Linked DNA regions of Homo sapiens: all the other regions are linked to region 3. The links are contacts of gene promoters, found by promoter capture Hi-C in human tissues and cell types (Jung and others, 2019). All regions are on one chromosome and are shown on one strand. The core of a region is centred on a gene start or on the middle of the fragment in contact, and the rest is flanking DNA. Distances in the headings are between cores, read along the strand shown.

Evidence for each region. Contacts are between HindIII fragments. The study calls those that stand out against the background at their distance.
Region 1: the fragment with the promoter of TULP2 here is called in contact with the fragment with the promoter of RCN3 in region 3 in 4 of the 25 tissues and cell types used here (dorsolateral prefrontal cortex, liver, small bowel and 1 more).
Region 2: a fragment that was not itself captured here is called in contact with the fragment with the promoter of RCN3 in region 3 in 2 of the 25 tissues and cell types used here (heart right ventricle and spleen).
Region 4: a contact is called between the fragment with the promoter of BAX here and the fragment with the promoter of RCN3 in region 3, in 1 of the 25 tissues and cell types used here (dorsolateral prefrontal cortex).
Region 5: a fragment that was not itself captured here is called in contact with the fragment with the promoter of RCN3 in region 3 in 1 of the 25 tissues and cell types used here (dorsolateral prefrontal cortex).

Annotation. Positions count from the first base shown.
Region 1 is chr19:48,897,329-48,900,028 of GRCh38, reverse strand. It overlaps TULP2 (TUB like protein 2), which reads left to right and starts at 1,285. Exons shown (of 13, transcript NM_003323.3): 1 at 1,285-1,439; 2 at 2,160-2,192; 3 at 2,633-2,684. The coding sequence starts at 2,161. RefSeq lists a cis regulatory region at 541-1,540 and an enhancer at 1,075-1,890. The HindIII fragment of the contact is 17,343 bases long and covers 1-2,700 here.
Region 2 is chr19:48,631,270-48,633,969 of GRCh38, reverse strand. It overlaps DBP (D-box binding PAR bZIP transcription factor), which reads left to right. Exons shown (of 4, transcript NM_001352.5): 3 at 315-526. Among named protein-coding and RNA genes, the nearest start is that of DBP, 4.8 kb to the left of the region's middle. The HindIII fragment of the contact is 4,057 bases long and covers 1-2,700 here.
Region 3 is chr19:49,526,713-49,529,412 of GRCh38, reverse strand. RCN3 (reticulocalbin 3) reads right to left here and starts at 1,410. Exons shown (of 7, transcript NM_020650.3): 1 at 1,355-1,410; 2 at 699-946. The coding sequence starts at 940. RefSeq lists a silencer at 1,333-1,452 and an enhancer at 916-1,494. The HindIII fragment of the contact is 21,368 bases long and covers 1-2,700 here.
Region 4 is chr19:48,953,605-48,956,304 of GRCh38, reverse strand. BAX (BCL2 associated X, apoptosis regulator) reads right to left here and starts at 1,430. Exons shown (of 6, transcript NM_138761.4): 1 at 1,343-1,430; 2 at 706-757; 3 at 472-618; 4 at 1-107. The coding sequence starts at 1,376. RefSeq lists enhancers at 956-1,165, 615-1,182, 1,183-1,751 and a silencer at 1,286-1,435. The HindIII fragment of the contact is 13,021 bases long and covers 1-2,700 here.
Region 5 is chr19:49,006,948-49,009,647 of GRCh38, reverse strand. It overlaps RUVBL2 (RuvB like AAA ATPase 2), which reads right to left. Exons shown (of 15, transcript NM_006666.3): 5 at 2,501-2,630; 6 at 2,280-2,346. Among named protein-coding and RNA genes, the nearest start is that of MIR6798, 1.6 kb to the left of the region's middle. RefSeq lists an enhancer at 1-208. The HindIII fragment of the contact is 7,286 bases long and covers 1-2,700 here.

The sequences.
Region 1 (2,700 bases), core at 36-2,535, 630 kb after region 3:
TCATGGGAGCTGTAGTTTTCCCATTTATTTTCGCCCCACGAAGTGCCTGGAAGTTATAGCGCGGTAGCAATTGCATAGCCTTTCTTATGAGTTTCTTTCTTCTTCTTCTTATTATTCGAGACAGGGTTTGCTCTGTCACCCAGGTTGGAGTGCAGTGGCGCAATCACTTCTCACTGCAGCCTCTACCTCCCAGGCCCAAGCAATCCTCCCGCGTCAGCCTCCCAAGTAGATGGGACCACAGGCCACACTACCATGCCTGGCTAATGTATATTTTTTAAATTTTTAATACAAATATTTAAATCTTTAATTCTTTTTTAGCCTTTTTTTTTTTTTAACGTTCTGTCTTTCACACTTCTCACACTTTGTTGTTGTTGTTTTTTAAAGAGACGGATGTCAAGCCGGGCTTGGGGGTTCACTCCTGTAATCCCAGCACTTTGGGAGGCTGAGGCAGGCAGATCACCTGAGGTCAAGGGTTTGAGACCAGCCTGGCCAACATGGAGAAACCTCGCCTCCACTAAAAATACAAATTAGCCAGGCGTGGTTGCGCATGCCTGTAATCCCAGCTACTCAGGAAGCTGAGGCAGGACAATCTCTTAAACCCGGGAGGCGGAGGTTGCAGTGAGCCGAGATCGCGCCACTGCACTCCAGCCTGGGCGACAGAGTGAGACTACGTCTCAAAAAAAAAAAAAAATCTCTGTGTTGCTGGTCTGGATCTGGATCTCCTGGACTCAAGCAATCTTGCCTCCCCGTCTCCGCCTCCCAAAGTGCTGGGATTACAGGCGTGAGCCACTGCGCCCCGCCTCTTTTAAGTTTCTTGTAAGCGAGATGTGTACAGTGAGGCCGCGAGGTCTCTGGTCTCCCGCTCTCTCTCTCTCTTTTTTTTTTTTTTTTTGAGACGGTGTCTACCTCTGTCACACAGGCTGGAGTGCAGTGGCGCGATCTCAGCTCACTGCGAGCTCCGCCTCCCGGGTTCACGCCATTCTCCTGCCTCAGCCTCCCGAGTAGCTGGGACTACAGGCGCCCGCCCGCCACAACGCCCGGCTAATTTTTTTGTGTATATATATATATTTTTTTTTAGTAGAGACGGGGATTCACCATGTTAGCCAGGATGGTCTAGATCTCCTGACCCCGTGATCCGCCCGCCTCGGCCTCCCAAAGTGCTGGGATTACAGGCGTGAGCCACCGCGCCGGGCCGGTCTCTGGTCTCTTTAAGGAACCCCCACACGGCATTCGTGTTCAGAACCCCCGGAGCAGGGTTGCCTGGCTGCATCAGTGACCGAGTTCGTTACTTTGTTGGAAGTGGAGAGTGGAGGGTCAGAAGGGAGTGGACCAGTTCAGGTCCCAGAGGGAATCCTCCCTCCCTCTGAGCCGTCTTTCTTCTCCTCCCTATTTCGCAGATATCCCGAGATTAGGTCCCCAGCTTCCAAAGAGAGGATCAGGTATGTTTAGAGATTGGCCAGAGAGGCAAGGTACCGAGGCATCAATGTGAGCAGCCTCTCCAGGCACCTGGTGAGGAGAACAAGTCTCCCGGATCCCAGGCAGGTGGGCAGTGGAGTTCTAGGCCGCTGGGGGCTGGGTGTTTGAAGTGCACAGTCCTGAGTTCTGATGCCTGGGTGCTGGAGAATTAGATATTTGGGGGAGAGAGAAGCGGACTTGCGGACCCCCGTGGGAAGCTGGAAACAGGCTACTAGATCCCGACAGGAGTGGGTGCTGGGATTCGGGCTGCCTGGGTCCGGAAGCAAATTTAAAGGTAAGGATCAGGCCGGGCACTGTGGCTCATGCCTGTAATCCTAGCACTTTGGAAGGCCAAGGCGGGCAGATCACCTGAGGTCAGGAGTCCGGCACCAGCCTGGCCAACATAGTGAAAACCGGTATCTACTAAAATACAAAAAAATTAGGCAGAATAGCGGACGCCTGTAGTCCCAGCTACTCGGGAGGCTGAGGCAGGAGAATCGCTTGAACCCAGGAGGTGGAGGTTGCAGTGGCCGAGATGGCGCCACTGCACTGCAGCCTGGGCGACAGAGCGAGGCTCAGCTGTCTCTAAATACATAAATAAATAAATAAATAAATAAATAAATAAGGCTAAAGATTAGGTGCTGGTGGGCAGGATCCATTGGGATGTTGGTTCTGATCCTGACTCCTCATTCTTGCTTCTGCAGAATGTCTCAGGATAATGACACATTGATGAGAGAGTGAGTAGGGAAACAGATGGGTAGGGGTGGAGGTGGAAAGGGCTGGGGACCCCGTGCACTCGGCTCTGGCTTCATAACCATGTTTGCAGGTTCAGCACCATCGGCCTTGCAGGAAGGGGCTGGGGACCTGGACTCCTGTGTCCTGAAGGGATGGGGCTAGGGTGCAGACTTCTGGGTCTGAAAGAGAAGGGGTTGGGGGCCCCAGACTCCTGAATCCTGAGACAGGAGGGACCTGGGATCTCTGGGTCCCGGCTTCTGTGGGCCAGTGCCAGGAGAAAGGGCCCTATAACTGGTGGAGCAGGCTCAGGTTCTGCACCTCCTGTGACCTCACAGGTGCCCAGAACCCAAGCTGAGATAGGGGCAGGATGGGGGAAGGAGGGACTCTCTTGGGCAACCGAGGTTCCCTGTGCACTGTCACCATGGGCCTGTGTCTCTCTCAGCATCCTGGGGCATGAGCTCGCTGCTATGAGGCTGCAGAAGCTGGAACAGCAGGTATTGTGCCCAGGAA
Region 2 (2,700 bases), core at 71-2,570, 900 kb after region 3:
CGCCACTACACCTGGGCAATTTTCGTACTTTTAGTAAAGATGAGGTTTCTCCATGTTGGCCATGCTGGTCTTGAACTCCTGACTAAAGGTGATTCGCCGCCTCGGCTTCCCAAACTGCTGGGGTTACAGGCGTGAGCCACTGCGCCTGGCCAAGGGAACCTTCATATTTTATATTAGGGAGATTAATCCCTGGCCGAATTTATGCTAGATCCCAGAAGGACTTTCCATGTGGCTATGATACCACAGCAAAAAGTAGCTTCAGGAAACCCCCTCCTTAAAATACACACTCAGCTGACACGTGCTGTTTCCCCAAGGCCTGACCTCTCGGGACACACCCAGCCCTGTGGACCCAGACACCGTGGAGGTGTTGATGACCTTTGAACCCGACCCAGCTGATCTTGCCCTATCAAGCATTCCTGGCCACGAGACCTTTGACCCTCGAAGACATCGCTTCTCAGAAGAGGAACTTAAGCCCCAGCCAATCATGAAGAAGGCAAGAAAAATCCAGGTGCCGGAGGAGCAGAAGGTGAGCAGAGCTGGATGTGGGAGATAGACTTGGCTGGAGACATGCCCCACAGCCAGGGAGGGGCCTTTTCTCACAGTCAAGCCTGGGCTTCTCCTTGGGATTAGTGCTCAGCCTCTCCTGGCCTGCAGCCACAGATTAGTCCTCCTTGGCCACGGGGCACAAGGGGGCAGGGGCCTGAGGTTTATAAAGACAGTGTCAACTGGGCGAGGGGCCTCACTCGTGTAATCCCAGCATTTTAGGGGGCTGAGGCAGGAGGATCTCTTGAGCTCGGGAGTTCAAGACCAGCCTGGGCAACATGGCAAAACCCCATTTCTACAAGCCACTTGGGAGGCTGAGGTGGGAGGACTGCTTGTGCCTGGGAGATTGAGGCTGCAGTGAGCCAAGATTACACCACTGCACTCCAGCCTGGGCAACAGAGGGAGACCTTGTCTTAAAACAAAAGACAGTGTCACTGTGGGGTGCTGACTCAGCCAGCTCTGCTAGGTCTACTTGTAGAGACTTGGAGCTTCTCCTATTACTTGGGTCCAGAGCTCCACCAGGCACACTTGCAAAGGACAGTCTTCCTTTGGCAATGGGATATCAGCCTGTGGCCTGTCTCTCCTTACTCAGCAGGCCTTTGATCTCTGATGTGGGACTTCCTTTGGAGTGATTGCATTTGGCTAGGATGAAGACTGTGCCAGCCCCTTTAGGCCTTGTTTCCTGGGCCTGGACTTCTCACTGGTGGGAGACTTCAGGCTTCTGTTAGCAGCCAGTGCCACTTTCTGATTTGGGGTGATTTGAGCAGTCATTGCATCTTTGCATGATTTTGTTTTTTGCCATTACTGGAGTCTTCCCTAGCAAGAGTTGCTTGGGCTTCTGTTACAAGACTTTGTCATTCCGGGCCAGGCGCGTTGGCTCACGCCTGTAATCCTAGCACTTTAGGAGGCTGAGGTGGGCGGATCACTTGAGGTCAGGAGTTTGAGACCAGCCTGGCCAACATGGTGAAACCTCGCCTCTACTAAAAGTACAAAAATGTTCCGGGTGTGGTGTCTCACACCTGTAATCACAGCACTTTGGGAGGCCGAGGCGGACAGATCACGAGATCAGGAGACCATCCTGGCCAACATGGTGAAACCCCGTCTCTACAAAAAAATACAAAAATTAGCTGGGCATGGTGGCACTCATCTGTAGTCCCAGCTACTTGGGAGGCTAATGTAGGAAAATCGCTTGAACCCAGGAGACGGAGGTTGCAGTGAGCCGAGATCGCGCCACTGCACTCCAGCCTGGGCGACAGAGTGAGAACTCCATCTCAAAAAAAAAAAAAAAGAACAAAAATTAGCCGGACATGGTAGCGGGCACCTATAATCCCAGCTACTTGGGAGGCTGAGGCAGGAGAATCGCTTGAACCTGGGAGGTGGAGGTTGCAATGAGCCGAGATCATGCCACTGCATTCCAGCCTGAACGACAGAGCGAGACTCCATCTCAAAAACAAACAAGACTTTGCCATACCCTTGCGTAACACATAGCTACTTGAAGCACCTAGGACTGGCCTGGAAGTCAGATCTACACCAGTGGTTTCTCCTTCTAGAGGGCCCTGTTGCTAGGGACTGGATTTACCCTCACAAGCAGGAACTGGGCTTTAATTAAATAGTGGAGTAGAGAGCATCTTTCTGAGCCCCGTGGTCCTTGGTTACTAAGGAGGAGTCTTCCTTAGGAACCAACTTCCAGGATGGGAGGACTTTAGGTATAATCCTCTGGGGAGGTCTCAGGATAGTCCCCTTTCCTAAGAGACAGCTCTTCTCTCAGTCAGGTCCTACTGGGGAGGAGGCTATTCTCTGGCCTCAGTTCAAGGCCAGCAGGTCAGAGGCTGGCCACAGTCATTGAAACCACTTAGACCTCACTTTTGTTTGCCAAGGATGGATGAGGTTGCCTTGGCAACCAGGTCAGAAGGCCCCAGCTCTGCGAGGATTTTATGGGACACCAAACCCCATCACCAGGGCACCAAGCTTTCCTTAGCAACCAGGATCTGGAAAGGCAATGTGCAGGGCAGGGCAGTGCTCTTCATTGGGAGAAGCCCTCAGACCATGAAGGCCTTGTTGCTAGGGAACAAGCATCCTTAGCAAGCAAGAGCTAACTGCATGCAGGCCTTTATCATGTGGGGAGGGCTGGGGTCCGCTTTGCAGAGTGGAGACTTG
Region 3 (2,700 bases), core at 161-2,660:
CCACCCAGCTCACCCTGAAACTCAGGGCTCTGCCACTCTCCTGCACTGGCCGGGCTCCTTAAAGGCCAAACCTCATTTTCCACACCAGTCCCTGCCATTTACAGAGCAGGAAACTGAGGCTTGGGGAGGGGAGATGTCTGGGACAAAAGAATAAGGAGCGCTTAGGGGGCAGAATCTAACCCAGATTTTGCTGCCCTCAAAGGTCCTCTTTTTTATTGTTGTTGTTGTTTTTTAGACGGAGTCTCACTTTGTCGCCCTGACTGGAGGGCAGTGGTGCAATTTTGGCTCACTGCAACCTCCACCTCCCAGGTTCAAGCGATTCTCCTGCCTCAGCCTCCCGAGTAGCTGGGATTACAGGTGCCCACCACCACGCCTGCCTAATTTTGTATTTTTAGTAGAGACGGGATTTCACCATGTTGGCCAGGCTGTTCTCGAACTCCTGACCTCAAGTGATCGGCCTGCCTTGGCCTCCCAAAGTGCTGGGATTACAGGCATGAGCCACCACGCCCGGTCTCAAAGGTCCTCTTTAGGCCTCAATTTTAACTTAATTTCTTTTTCCCAAGGATAGAAGGTAGAATTTCATTTCTCACAAAGAAATGAAGTTCAGTCCACGCCATTTCTCTGACCCCTGTCGATACCCCCGCGTCTCTCTCCTAAGCCCCACCTCTGGACACGCCCCAACCGAATGTCTCTCTTACCCCAGACGGGCCTGGCTTTCCTCTGGGGTGAGTTGGTCGAATTCCTTGGCCACTTCCCGTCCCAGGAAAGCCTCATGGTCGTACTGGAAGTTCCCGTGGGCGTCATCATGGGGAGCGTCGCTCAGGGGGGCCGCCTGGTGCACCCTCCCCTGGCCATGAGGGCCTGCGTCTGGGGATGGCTTCCCCTGGGCCCCGTGCCTCAGTAGCAACAGAAGCAGCAGAACTGATGGTCGCCACATCATCGGTCCCTGGGGAGTGGCAAAGGCCAGGGGTCAGGGGTCACAGGGATGGGGACAGACACGGGATAGGAGAATGGCGGGGTGGAGGGGTTACCTAGGACAGGACAGGGAGTTGGAAGTTGGCTGCAAGCTTTCGGGCTCAAAAAGGGCGGGCGATGGGGGAAAAGAGGGCGGGATGCTTAGAGGTAAAGCCACCTATGGGGAGGACCGAATCTTCTGACGGAGTCTCAGGGGGGTCCCAGACCTGCCAGGGGGAATTACAGAGACAGACGTGGCGCACATCCCACGCAAGGTGCAGGGCATAGTTGTGGCCAGCGAGAGGTCAGGCAGGCTCCCCGTCATTGCTCCCAGTCCGGACCCTGGTCCTCGACCCGAGCCGCCCTCCCTGGACAGAGGCCCCCCACCCACTCCCTTTACCCTGTTATCCAGCTTCGCTCCGCTCTCCACGCTCCGCTCTGCGTTCCCGCAAATGTGCCCAATTCGGCCGCTCTCCAGTCAGGCCCCGCCTCTGGCAGCGCAGAGCCCCGCCCCCCGCCCAATGAGCTCGCACGAGCGTCTCACGGGGCGGGGCCAATGAGTGCACGGGGTGCCGCGGGCACTCCTCGCCACGTCCACAAAGGAAACCGCGGCCTGCCCGGGGAAGAAGGGTGGGCGACACCGCAGTGACGCGGCCGGGGAGAACTACAACTCCTGGCAGTCGTCGCGGCACTCTGCCGTCCACCTCCAGCTGTTCTAGTCACAACGCCTCACGGGAAATGTATTTTTCCCTTTCCCTTTGTCAGGATGGTTTAAGAAAGAGGTGTACGTTCCAACACTTCTATACCAAACAAAACAAAACAAAACAAAAATAAACAAAAAGAACGAAAGAAAAGAAAAAAGGCCGGGCGCGGTGGCTCACGCCTGTAATCCCAGAACTTTGGGAGGCCGAGGCGGGCGGATCGCCTGAGGTCGGGAGTTCGAGACCAGCCTGATCAACACGGAGAAACCCCATCTCTACTAAACATACAAAATTAGCCGGGTGTGGTGGCGCATGTCTTTAATCCCAGCTACTTTGGGAGGCTGAGGCAGGAGAATTGCTTGAACCTGGGAGGCGGAGGTTGTGGTGAGCCGAGATCGCACCATTGCATTCCAGCCTGGGCAACAAGAGCGAAACTCCGTCTCAAAAAAAAAAAGAAAGAAAAGAAAAGAAAAGAAAAGGGAGAGCAGAATCAAGGGGCCGGAGGAAATATCCCATTTCCTCCAAGAGTGAACACTGCTCCTCGCTCCTCTTCGGCTCCAAGGATTCAGGTGGTCAGACAGTAGCCAAGAATTCCTCAAAATGCCTGGCATGGCAGTCATCCAGTAAATATTTGTAAAAGTTATGAATTAAAAATACATGACCTCAGGTTGAGCACAGTAGCTCAATGCCTGTAATCCCAGAACTTTGGGAAGCTGAGGCAGGTGGATCACCTGAGGTCAGGAGTTCCAGACCAGCCTGACCAACATGGTGAAACCCCGTCTCTACTAAATACAAAAAATTAGCCGGGTGTGGTGGTGCATGCCTGTAATCCCAGCTACTTGGGAGGCAGGAGAATTGCTTGAACCTGGGAGGCGGAGGTTGCAGTGAGCTGAGATCACGCAATTGTACTCCAGTCTGAGCAACAAGAGCAAAACTCTGTCTTAAAAAAAAAAAAAAAAAGTGACCTTAGGCCGGGCGCGGTGGCTCACACTTGTAATCCCACCCCTTTGGGAGGCAGAGGCGGGTGGATCATGAGGTCAGGAGA
Region 4 (2,700 bases), core at 181-2,680, 570 kb after region 3:
AAAGGGCGACAACCCGGCCCCAGTTGAAGTTGCCGTCAGAAAACATGTCAGCTGCCACTCGGAAAAAGACCTCTCGGGGGGAGTCTGTGTCCACGGCGGCAATCATCCTGCAGGAGAGAGGAGAACCAGTGCCGGGGAGCAGGCATCAGGCTGATGGTGGAAAATTCCCGCATCCACCGCACACTAAAGATAAGGAGACTGAGCCCCAAGCCAGGCTGAAATGAAAAGCAACAGGCCAACGGGGGACAAGGGAAGGGGACAAGACAGACATTTAGGAAGGTGGGAAAAATGACTCCCTGAAGGAGGGTTTTAAGATCCTGGCAGAGAGGAGGGCTGGGAGTCCGGAATGTTTGCGCTGAGTTGTGGGGCCCAGACTCCTAGTTCTTAGGGGAGGAGGAGAATGCGGGGCTGAGAGTCCTGTGTCCTGAAGGAGCCCAGTGGCTGGACTTCTGGGTCCTCAGGGGCCCACACCTCTGCAGCTCCATGTTACTGTCCAGTTCGTCCCCGATGCGCTTGAGACACTCGCTCAGCTTCTTGGTGGACGCATCCTGAGGCACCGGGTCCAGGGCCAGCTCGGGTGCCTCCCCCCCCATTCGCCCTGCTCGATCCTGGATGAAACTAGAGTGGGGATGGAGTGAGGGTGCAGAATCAGAACGGGGTGTCACTCCTCAAATCTGTGCCACAATAATCAGACCTCAAACTCACCCCTGAAGCAAAAGGGCCCCTGTCTTCATGATCTGCTCAGAGCTGGTGGGCCCTAGAGGAGAAAGGAAGGGAAGAGGTACCTGGACTCTTGGGTTCTAGGGGATCAGGAGACTGTGGAGACTCACGGCCCCTGAGGGAGGACAGAGCTGGGGACCCTGGACTTCTGGGACCCTAGCAGATAAAGTGACGGGGGGGCCCAGACAACTGAGTCCCTGATGGAGAAAGGCCAGGAGGCTGGGCCTGTATCCTACATTCTCCCCGGGGAAAGAGGCTAGGGGAACGCTATATGCATCCAGACCCCTGGCCTGAGGGGGCAGAGGCGAGACCCGCCCCTCCCACCAGTGCCAGAGGCAGGAAGTGGTGCGGGCGACAAGCCCGGGCCTGCCCGGGGGCTTGGCTTCCGAGATCCCCTGGTTCTCGAGGGTCCGAGAGCGCCAGAGAGGCAGGGATCGGGACACGGGGATCAGAGAGCCAGGAACCTCCGAGGACGGAGGGGACTGGAGGCTGGCAGCGCCCGATCCGGGAGTTTCTGCCCCTCAGTGCTTGGAGATCGCACAGCCCCAGGCCGGTAGGAAGGATCCCGGACGGGCCGGCGAGGGGGCTCGCCCTCCTCCCGCCCGTCTGCCTCCCGCCTCACCCCCGCCTCTGGGCTGCTCCCCGGACCCGTCCATCACCGCCGCTCCCGCCGCCGCCTCTCGCCGGGTCCGCGCGGGCGGCCGCAGCGCGCCCGGGTCACGTGAGAGCCCCGCTGAACGTGCGTCCTTCACGTGGCCGCCCCGCAAAATGGCCGCTGCCCCGCAGCGCCGCCGGGTCACGTGACCGCACCTGCCTCGCTCCCTCGGGAGGTTTGGTCCCGTCACGTGACTGTCCAATGAGCATCTCCCGATAAGTGCCAGCAGTGGCGCCGTCCAACAGCCGTCCGTCCAATCGCAGCTCTAATGCCTTCATTTATCCAGGCACCATTTTTAGAAGTTTCGGGCAGGGTTTGAGCTCTCCCCAGCGCAGAAGGAATTAGCAAGTGCAAAAGCTCAGAGGCCCAAAATAGCATGCTTCCAGGCAGGACGTTATAGATGACTAAAAACTGAGTGGTTTTGTTTTTTGCAGAGACCTGGATCTAGCAATATAGCCCACGCCCAGGCTTGTCTCTAACTTGTGAGCCCAAGAGATAACCCCGTCTCAGCCTTCCAAAGCGCTGGGATTACAGGCATGAGCTACCGCGCCAGGCCTGCTTTTCTGTTTGTTTGTTTTTTCCTGTTTTTTTTTTTTTTTTTTTTGAGACAGGGTCTCACTGTGTTGCCCAGGCTGGAGTGCAGTGGCCCAATCATGGCTCACTGCAGTCTGGAATTCCCGGGCTGAAGCCTCCCACCTCAGCCTCCTGAGTAGCTGGGACTACACCGCCCCTGGTTAATTTTTAAAACTTTTTATGTGGAGATGAGGTCTCTCTATGTTGCCCAGGCTGGTCTCTGAACTCCCAGACTCAAGCGATCCTCGCACCTTGGCCTCCCAAAGTGCTGAGATTACAGGCTTGAGCCACCCCACCCAGTCATGACTCGAATGTTTGTGTTTGTGTAAAAAGAAAAGGAATATGAAGTTTAAAAAGTGGCAGAAACTAATCTGTGCTGATAGATCAGCAGGGTATGGAGGGGAGGGGCCACAAGAGACACTCCCCGGGTGCCCCAAATATGCCATATTTTTATCTGAATGGTGTTTACATGGGTATACACATTATTATTATTATTATTATTATTATTATTATTATTATTTTGAGACGGAGTTTTGCTCTTGTTGCCCAGGATGGAGTGCAATGGCACGATCTCGGCTTACTGCAACCTCTGCCTCCGGGTTCAAGCAATTCTCCTGCCTCAGCCTCCCAAGTAGCTGGAATTGCAGGCATGCGACACCACGCCCAGCTAATTTTGTATTTTTAGTAAAGATGGGGTTTCACTATGTTGGTCAGGCTGGTCTCAAGCTCCTGACCTCAAGTGATCCACCTGC
Region 5 (2,700 bases), core at 93-2,592, 520 kb after region 3:
CAAGGAAGCTCTCCAGGGAAGACATACGGTGCGCTCACCAGCCTGACGCGGTGATGGCTCCGCGGCTGAACATGTATGTCCCAACGGACCATACTGGACACTTGCAATGTGTACAGCTTTCTGTATGTCAATTAAAACTCAATAAAGTTCTTTTTTTTTTTGAGACGGAGTCTTGCTCTGTCGCCCACGCTGGAGTGTAGTAGCATGATCTCGGCTCACTGCAAGCTCTGCCTCCCGGGTTCACGCCATTCTCCTGCCTCAGCCTCCCGAGTAGCTGGGACTACAGGCGCCCGCCACCACGCATGGCTAATTTTTGTATTTTTAGTAGAGATGGGGTTTCACTGTGATAGCCAGGATGGTCTCGATCTCCTGACCTTGTGATCTGCCCACCTCGGCCTCCCAAAGTGCTGGGATTACAGGAGTGAGCTACTGCGCCTGGTGAATAAAGCTCTTTTTTTTTTTTTTTTTTTTTTTTTTTTTTTTTTTTGAGATAGAGTCTTGCTCTGTCGCCCAGGCTGGAGTGCAGTGGTGTGATCTCAGCTCACTCCAACCTCCATCTCCCGGGTTCAAGTAGTTCTCCTGCCTCAGCCTCCCAAGTAGCTGGGATTACAGATGTGTGCCACCATACCCAGCTAATTGTTTTGTGTTTTTATTATTTATTTATTTTTGAGATGGAGTTTCGCTCTTGTTGCCCAGGCTGGAGTGCAATGGTGTGATCTCGGCTTACTGCAACTTCTGCCTCCCAGATTCAAGCGATTCTCCTGCCTTAGCCTCCCAAGTAGCTGGGATTACAAGCACCCACCACCACGCCCAGCTAATTTTTTGTATTTTTAGTAGAGACAGGGTTTCACCATGTTGGTCAGGCTGGTCTTGAACTCCTGACTTCAGGTGATCCACCCGCCTCGGCCTCCCAAAGTGCTGGGATTATAGGCATGAACCACCGCGCCCAGCCATTTTGTATTTTTAGTATAGACAGGGTTTCACCATGTTAGTCAGGCTCGTTTCGAACTCCTGATCTCAAGTGATCGCCCACCTCAGCCTCCCAAAGTGCTGGGATTACAGGTGTGAGCCACTGCGCCTGGCCAAAACTCAATAAAGCTCTTAATAAAAATAGTAAACAGGCAGGGTGCAGTGGCTCACACCTGTAATCCCAGCACTTTGGGAGGCCGAGGCGGGCAGATCACAAGGTCAGGAGATCGAGACCACAGTGAAACCCCGTCTCTACTAAAAATACAAAAAATTAGCCGGGCGTGGTGGCAGGTGCCTGTAGTCCCAGCTACTCGGGAGGCTGAGGCAGGAGAATGGCATGAACCCGGGAGGCAGAGCTTGCCGTGAGCTGAGATTGTGCCACTGCACTCCAGCCTGGGCAACAGAGCAAGACTCCATCTCAAAAAAAAAATTATAATAAAATAAAATAAAAATAAAAAATAAAAATAGTAAACAAACAACATGCCTAAAAAATAAAGTCTATCAAAAACAACATAGGCCCGAGGTCTCGCAAAATTGCCAAATGTCACACTTTGACATTCCTATTTTATACCCAAATAAAAAGTGTTTTTGTTGATCACAAAATCAGAAAACACAGCTATGCAAAAAGGAGAAAACAGAAATTGTAAAAAAAAAAAAAAAAAAAAAAAAAGAGGCCAGGTATGGTGGCTCACGGCTGTAATCCCAGCACTTTGGGAGGCCAAGGTGGGCAGATCACGAGGTCAGGAGTTCAAGACCAGCCTGGCCAACATGGTGAAACCCCGTCTCTACTGAAAGTACAAAAATTAGCCGGGCGTGGTGGCATGCACACACCTGTAATCTCAGCTACTCGGAAGGCTGAGGCAGAAGAATCACTTGAACCTGGGAGGCAGAGGTTGCAGTGAGCCGAGATTGCACCACTGCATTCCAGTCTGGGGGACAGAGGGAGACTCTGTCTCGAAAACAAAAAAAAAAGAGAGAGCAAATCACCTGTATCATGTAAGATGGACAGGACATGCCTTTCGGCCACGGAACGAGTTTTGAAGTCTGTTGGGTTTTGAGGTCTGTTGGGAACTCACTAACAGATCTCTCTCATTATTTTACCGCCTCAGTTTCTATTGCCCATAATGTCCTTCATAAGGGGATAAGCCATTGTCAAGTTAACTGACCTCCTACTGTAGGCATGTACATGGCTCTAGTCTGCAGCTAGAACATTCCATGGGATTCTGACCTCAGTGCAGACCTGATATCTACTCTCTCCAACCCTGGCGCTGGAGGTGGCCTCAGCAGGGTACAGACTCACACAGACTCACCGTCCCTGTTGCTGGTCGATCAATCTGGATCTCCACCACCTCCCCTTCGATGATCTCCGTCTCCTCCCTAGCCAGAGAGCAGATCTGAGGAGACAGCCTGACACCTGGACCCTCGGGAATCACAACCTTCCATGAGCTCTGGGACAAAGGACGAGCCGCCCGGGGTGCGGGGTTGCTCCCAGGCTCTGGGGTCTGGCACCCGCCTCGGGTCCCCCGCTTACTTGATGCGAACGCCGATGGACCGCCGGAAGGCCTGCGTCAGCGCCTCGGTCTTGCTCATCTCCAGGGAGAAGATTTCACTGCCGGCGATGGCTGTGAATGGCGTGTCAGGGCCCAGGGCCTGCGCCATGCCTGGGAAGGAGGCAGTCTGTGTAGGTGAAGCCGCTCTGGCACCAGGTCCCCGACACCTGCTCTGTGGCAA